2 separate regions of the Homo sapiens genome follow, and region 2 is linked to region 1. The links are contacts of gene promoters, found by promoter capture Hi-C in blood cells and fetal thymus (Javierre and others, 2016). All regions are on one chromosome and are shown on one strand. Each heading gives the region's core, a stretch centred on a gene start or on the middle of the fragment in contact. The rest is flanking DNA. Distances are from core to core; before and after follow the strand shown. Region 1 holds the start of DIRAS2 (DIRAS family GTPase 2). Region 2 has its middle 160 kb from the start of LINC01508.

Evidence for each region. Contacts are between HindIII fragments. The CHiCAGO score rates a contact against its expected background, and 5 or more counts as called.
Region 2: a fragment that was not itself captured here is called in contact with the fragment with the promoter of DIRAS2 in region 1 in 1 of 17 cell types (M0 macrophages); the score reaches 5.4 in M0 macrophages.

What each region holds. Positions count from the first base shown.
Region 1 is chr9:90,640,738-90,644,532 of GRCh38, reverse strand. It overlaps DIRAS2 (DIRAS family GTPase 2), which reads left to right and starts at 1,709. Exons shown (of 2, transcript NM_017594.5): 1 at 1,709-1,781. RefSeq lists a silencer at 1,721-1,770. The HindIII fragment of the contact is 14,084 bases long and covers 1,108-3,795 here.
Region 2 is chr9:90,269,780-90,273,574 of GRCh38, reverse strand. No RefSeq gene overlaps it. Among named protein-coding and RNA genes, the nearest start is that of LINC01508, 160 kb to the left of the region's middle. The HindIII fragment of the contact is 3,179 bases long and covers 511-3,689 here.

The DNA of each region.
Region 1 (3,795 bases), core at 460-2,959:
GACATCATATTAAGTGAGTTGCTCCTTGTTTAAATGAGGCCTTTGGGCCTCTGCTTCACATTCTCAGAACAAATAATGATGGCATGTGGCAAAAGGCAGGCTTCTTCTGCATTGTGGGATATTCAGCATAGAACTGGCTCTCTTTATCAGCTCCTGATTTGCTCTCCCTGCTTCCATACTAGCACTGGATTTTTGCTTATTTAATCTTTTTACCCTCCTTTGTTTAGTTCTTAAATTCCATTTTGTCATTTAACCTGATAACCTACATTTTGGTTGTCATGGAAAACAACATCCTGACTTATAAAACTGGAAGGTTGTTTCAGGACCCAGAAACTGCATCAGGCAGTGCTCAGAATCCACTGTCATCATATTTGGAGCCTCCTCTGGGATGGGTTTCTGAGTGGCCATATATTCCTTTGCAATGAAGAGGAGACTGTGGAGGACAGGGTGACCACTCTGCTTTTAGACATCATTAGTGTAGGGGCAGGTTTGTTGAAGTAGCCTTAAATGACTTTAGTAAAAAGAGTGTATTTTTATTTTTATATTCCAATGGCTGTAGGATCAAGGCCAGAATTAGGATGAACTGGGGAATAAAATAAGTTTTCTTGACTATAAGTTGTAAAATGCGTAGTTTTTAAGTATGATTTTTAAAAAGCATATTTCCTGTGAATAGCAGGGCAGAATTTTACTATGGAAATGAACTTCAAAGGTTAACATGTTTTAATTATTTAGAAAGTGAAGACGGGATTAAAACAGATAAATAGGATTCTACAACAAAAATCAAATGTAAAGAACTACAGAATATTAATTTTGCTCAAGTCTTTTAGCATATTTGGTATTACAAAAGAATGAGTAATATAACCAAGAGAAGAAATCTTCCTTCAGTCTGTAGTTTAAACTTAACATGGATCAATGTTATGCTCAAGCACTTTTAAAAATGCCTGCACAGAATTGTTAGCCATTAATATTTTTTCTTGCTGATTCACCTGTTTTTTAATCAACGCGTCTTTGACAAAATTGTTTATCAATGTCAGGAAATAAACGTGGTCATTTGCTTGAAATGCTAATGTGAAACCACTCAGTGAAAAAGCAATTCTAATCCAAGCTTGCCAATGGCGGTGTTGTCATAGGATCCTATTAAATTAGAATATATTAATCTACACTGTGTGGTTGGCTATGGTATGGGGCAGGGCATTTCGTCTGCCTTTAAATGAGTCGGTTTTTAAAAGTTAAAATCTGGAAATGGAAAAAAAAAGTCTATATGGTTAGTAGCGATTATAGTTCGCAATGCGAACAAAAGAATCTGGTTCCCTTTCAATGGAATTATTTTAATTCATTAAATTATCAGAAAATTCCAGTCCTCGCCATCTATTCCAAGAGCATGCAGTAGGTGGCACCTAAAAGCTCTTTGGAGGCGAACAGGCGCCATTTAAGCAGGAGCAGCAGCCTCTGCAGCAGTTGGCACATCTGAGAAGGCAGAGATTGAAGAGAGTAGGAGGAGCGTGCAGCGGCGGTGACAGTGCCAGGCCGGAGCGGCTCAGGCCAGCGCAGGTGCAGGGGCTGCGAGCGGGTGGAGCGCGAGGGCGCTGGGCGCAGGGAGCACGGCCGGTGGGCGGTGCAGGGCGCACGGCGGGCGAGCAGCTGACAGCATCGTCACGGCGGCGGGAGGGAGTGCGCTGCGCCTGCCTCCGGGAGGAGCCGCATCCACACACCCTGCGCTGCCCTGTCCTGCGCGAGTGGAGCTCTGAAGAAGCTCTGAGCGGAGTTGTGTTCTTCCCCAGGTAACCGATTTCCCCCTTCTGCCGTGGCTTCGCTGCGTCCGCATTGGGGCACGGGCGGCTTTGGCATGATTGTTTGCCAGCCCCTGGAAAGGGATTACCGCTCTCAGGGAGGGCGAGTCAGCGTGTACTGGAGTTGGTAAGAGGGGAAGAAATCTGCATTTCTGTATCCTTGTTAGGGAGGGTGAGCATCATGCTGTCCTTGTCTAAAACATGTTCTTTTTTAAAAATCTGTATCTTACGTATTATTAGGGATTCCTTCCAAAACAGGATTTACCGTTTTGGAAAATTCTACTGTGCAGGTGTTTCTGTTAATGTGGAAGTTTAATGGATTTAGGAAAAGAGTAAGAAGATGTGGTCTAAAGTGAGAAAAAAGCCAAGCACGCTAGGGACTGCCGTTTGGTTCGGCATGCTTTCATCCTCGACTCCTTCACTTCATGCGCTTGGCCGAGACCTGTCTAAATCTTTTGTTTGTCTTCTTAAAGAATGTGTTTCATGATATCTACATGTGCTCCTTTCCGCTTCCTTGTTGTAAGAGCAGAAGATGGGCAAGGGGCTGCATCCAGTCCTTAGTTGTAAGACTGTGGTTTCCCATCAGATGACAATGACTGCTGACAGCTCCCAGGCTCGCCTGAAAAGCAGTGCTGGCTTCTGGCGTTGTGGGAACCTGCCTCTCTCCTTCTCTCTTGAAAAATGCTGTTTTTCCTCTTTAAAACTCCAATTCACATTCTATGTGGGTTTGGGAGACTTTTAAACTAGAAGCTCTGTGAATCATCTGTTACATCCATTGAATGCTGGAATACAACATTGTGGTGGAATTCAGTTTCTTCCTACTGTGCAGAGACACAGCTTGCCTTCCCTAGGAATTTATTTTACATATTTGCCCTCGTTATCTTTTAAATGGATCCCTTCAGATGTGAGAAGCTAGTCCAGCATATCAGAACTTTTCTGCTTCAAACTAAAAATTTTCAAAAATATTATTTTTGAGGAAGATTTTCCAGGTAACGCTAAAAGTCTGGAGCATTTTACATTTCAAATCAGTCACAATGTGCTCCATTTCCAGTGACATTTGGATTTGAGGAGGTGGAGGGGGAGGGAGAGAAAAGGGGAGGATAAAATTAGAATAAATTTAACAAATTTGTAGGGGAATCATACTTTTTTTTCTTCTTGGTTGTTGTCTGAAATTGAAAATTGTCCACAATTTTATCTATCTCTGGAAATGCAGGAGGCTTTGTGGGCTGGGGACAGGAAGACACATAGTTCATTTTATAGAAATAAAAGATACAGTGGCAAGGAAACATTTTCATCCCATTTAACATATGGCATTTAATTTGGTAATAGTCCCGGGCAAGCACAGGGAAAGGAAGGAGAAAGGAGGGGGTATTGCTGTCTATACCAAGGCACAGAACTGCTGCTCACACTTCAGTGATCCCTGCAGATGGGAAGTATGTGTTCATGGTTATTGTAGAAACCTCCAGAATCTTTCTTTGTTACAGCTTTAATAGAATTGTTCCTAAGAGGCGACTCAGAAAACATACAGATTGAATGCCAAGTTGTGGAAGTCACTTTTCAGCTTGTGTCTAACAACCCAGCATTCTCAGCAAAGCAGTTTCCTCATGAGAAGAGTGGAGGAGACCTTTTTTTTAAAAAAATTATTTATTGTATGTTGTTCGTATCCTATACACCACACATGACTTTTACTGTATTGGAAATGTATTATTTCAGTGGTAAATACTGCATATCTTACTGAAAAATTAAAACCTTTTAAAAAACAACTGGGGTGCTTTTGTCAAAAAGAGAGTGTATCTGTGATAATAAAAAGTATTGTTCATTCTTCTTCTAATTTGGAGACCAGAGTTGATATGTTGAAAATTAACCTATTTATTTATGCAAAATCATCATTTCCCTGTGACAAATGCCATACATTTTTCCACCAGAGAATTTCTTTGTGAGAGGACCATTCAGTTGTCTGGGGTGGAGTGGTTGCCTGCCAGCTGTTTTAAGTAAAAAAAGTGTT
Region 2 (3,795 bases), core at 851-3,350, 370 kb after region 1:
AATGTCCATCTTTCATGGTGGCAACTATTAGATTGTAAGGTTGGTTGGATGCTGAGTACACTTGTGCAGAGCAGACATAGAGAAAGATGGGCAGAGATGACAGGCAGCTGGTGTCTCCTAGATTTTCCTGAGAGCCTTCTCCAAAGTGCTGGCTTTGTGGTGGCTGGTAGGCATGTGCACACCGGGAGGCACAGCTTCCCGACCCAGGCCTGCCTTCATCAGCCTTTCTGGGGGCCTCCAGCCAGTTAGTGAACAGCCTTCAAAGAATGTACTGATGACCTGAGTGGCTTGCAAAATTCCATCACTGCTGCCAGGGAGCCACATTGCCTTCCCTGTCAGCCATCCTGCATTCATAACCAGTGGGCCTTTCGAAACAAAAAGAAATAATGTGGTAGCAGCTCAGCTTGCAGTGGTGATGAATCTGCATCTCATACCAAGCAGCAGATGCCAAGTGAACTATGCTAAATTTCACTTGTTTTTCTACACTATGCTGCAGCAGAACAGAAAGCTTGGGTTTGCGAATTACTCTCTGTTCCTCGGTTACATAACTCACTTGAATAAGGTAATGTAGGCAGAATAATTGTCTCTTTAACATTAAAAACTTTTTAATGCATTTTTAGTGTCAGCATGGACCAGCTTCTCCCCCACAAGGATGCAGGGAAGAGGGACAGAGGTGTGTGTGAGGCTGGGATCCCCCACTGATGACATGGAATACCTCATCAGCAGTGCAGGGACTGTCCTCGTACAGTTCCACTGGGATGCTTCCCTCCACTTTCCTCTCACATCCACTCCATCTCATCTATGTTGAAAGTGTCTTCCAGGAAGCATCCCCAAGACAGAGTCACACACACACACACACACACACATGACTGGTAAAGGGTAGGGAATGGGAGAGGCAGGGAGAGCCATTGGCATGATGTGGGTTGGACAGCCCTGAAAGGAGAGTAGGAAGGAAAGAAGATGGGAAAAACCTCAGCTCACAGCGGAGCTCTGAGAAAGTCCTGGCCGGCTCGGTGGTGAGCTCCAATGCAAAGGTTGTTTAGAGAAGAATCCCACATTGCATAGAAATAACCAGACCCAAGGACATAGCCATGCTAAGTCACCAGGCTCCTTTGGTACAGTATGTTCTCAGCTCCAGTGTTGCAGCCAACAGCTCTCCTAACAGCTGAATGGCAGGTCACTTCTTGATGGTGAACCCACATGGCACATGCCTGGGGCTGCACAGCCTCCTGTGGAGTCCCCCGTGGAGTGAATGCAGCACTTTCTACCTGCTTCCTGCTTCCCAGAGCACCTAGGATTCTCTAAAATACTATGCACTTGAAGTGTTTGTTGTTTTTGCCCCTTTCCTTCACAAACACTAGAACAGCATTTCCATGAAGGAAGAATTTTTTTGGGGGTTGCACTTTCCCCTGCATCAAGAACTGTTCTTGGCAAACAATAGGTGCTCAAGAATTACTTGTTAAATAAATACAGAGAAAATGCCCGTTACTCGGTTCCTACAAGGTCCCTGGGCACGTGTTAGATTCTCCATACACATTTCTTATGATCACAAGTACCATGCAAGGAAAGCATTGTATCCATGAAACAGAGGAAAAGAGGAGGTCATAGAGTTTAAGTCCTCTGCCCGAGGCCACACAGTCCCGGATCACAGGTGAACATTGCCTCTGAGGCTGGCACATTTCCCATATTCCAGGCTGGCACACCATCAATCTGCATCAAGACAGCAATTTGGGAAGAGATTTTTCTCTTAATGGCACATTTCTTTGGGAGAGAAGCTATGTTATGTATTCCTCACATCACACATTGAGGAAGCACTCAGTTATTTTCTTTTCATTTTACAGGCTAGTATTTGTTCTCAATATATTCAGAAGCCATGGAAGCAGTTTGCCTGCTGAATCCAGAATGCTGTCTTGTGTTGTTATTTATTTGCCAGTGGTCTAAGAACCACATTTAAGCGGTTTAATTTTCTGCCACAGTTTTAGTTTGCCTCTGGGTAAATCCTCTGGATTCTAAAAATCAAGAGTTTTCCAATTTTCAGACCTGTCAAATCCACATGACTTATTTTCTTATCTAGACAATTGCTGATTTAAATAATGTTTCAAGCTACAAACAAGATAAAAAATGTATTTAATATTGATTTAAAACTTCAAATCTACAACACTTGTGTCAATACCTACCTAAAGAGATTTTTCCTTAAACATATAACCATGTTCCACAGTTTCATAATAAAATGAACTTAAGAAGTAATTTAAGGCTAGTTACAGATATTAGCCTACACGTGACCACACAAGGTGAATGTGACTATATTCCAGCAAGTGTAATAATTCATGAATCATCACCATGGTCTATGAGGGGCAGTCTGGCATCAAGGAATATATTTATATATACTGGGAAGGAATCATTTGTTTTCTCTCAAGTCTTTTAATAAAAAATTTTCAGTTAATGATTCCTCATCTTATTTCCTGCTTTCCCACATAAATTTCAATCTCCAGCTCCCCAAATATTTTTACCACCTTCTAGCAGCTTTTAAAGGTCTCTTACACAAAGAGGGAACACTAGCCACCTGCTGGAGGGTGGAGGTTGGAAGGAGGGAGAGGATGGAAAAACTGTCTATCGGGTACTATGCTTATTACCTGGGTGACAAAATAACCTGTACACCAAACCCCCACAACACATAATTTACCCATGTCACAAACCTGCACATGTGCCCTCGAACCTCAAATAAAAGTTAAAAACAAATAAAGATTTCTTTATCACTATTCCTCAGATAACCAACCGTTAGGGGCCTCTTGCTTCTATCAGACATTGGTCTGTTCAGCAGTAAGAGCCTGAATGAATATGTGCCCATGCTATGACTTAGCATGCTCATCAATCATAAATCATAACAACACACGTTAGCCATAGTAGCCCAAAACTCAAAACCACTCAAATGTCAAACAAAAAAAAAAACACTAGGCAATAGACTGTGAAGTGTTCATACCATGGAATTCTATTCTGCAGTGAAAACCAACAAGCCACTGCTGATACCACAACACAGTTGAATACAAAAAATACTGAGTGAGCAAAGGCAGACCAGAGGAATGCACATTTCATGTTATCATTACAAAGTGTGTAAGAAGACAAAACTAAAATGCAATGTTTAAAAATGCGTAAGTGGTACAAAGACTGTTGGTTTTAAAATGTGAACATTAATAGCACAACAGAGAGAGTGGTCACCTTTGGAAAGAGTAAATAGTCCTTTTTGTGTTGCTACAGAGGAATACCTAAGACTCAGCAATTTATAAAGAAAAAAGTTTTACTTGGCTCACAATTCTATCTGGAAAAGTTGAGGATTGGGTGTCTGGTGAGGGCCTCGGGCTGCTTCCACTCCTGATGGGAAGCTGAGGAGAGTCAGCATGTGCAGAGATCACACAGCAAGAGAGGAAGCCAGAGACAGGGGAGGTGCCAGGCTTTTGTCTTTTGTCTTAAACAGCTAGCCTTCATGGAAACTGAGTGAGAACTCACTGACCCCAAGAAAGACCATCAATCTATTCATAAAGGATATGCCCCATGACCTAAACACCTCATATTAGGCCCCACCTCCCATATTGGGGATTGAATTTCAATAGGAGATTTGGTGGAAACAAACAAACCATATCCAAACTATAGTAGGGAGCAAGAGTGGCTTCTTCTGCAAGGCTGATGAAGCTTATTTCTGGACCAGAGGCTGTGGCTACATGTGCACATTCACTCTGTGATAACTTGTGGAGGTGCGCATCGGCAGTTTGTGCAGTTTTAGGTATGCATGTTTTACTT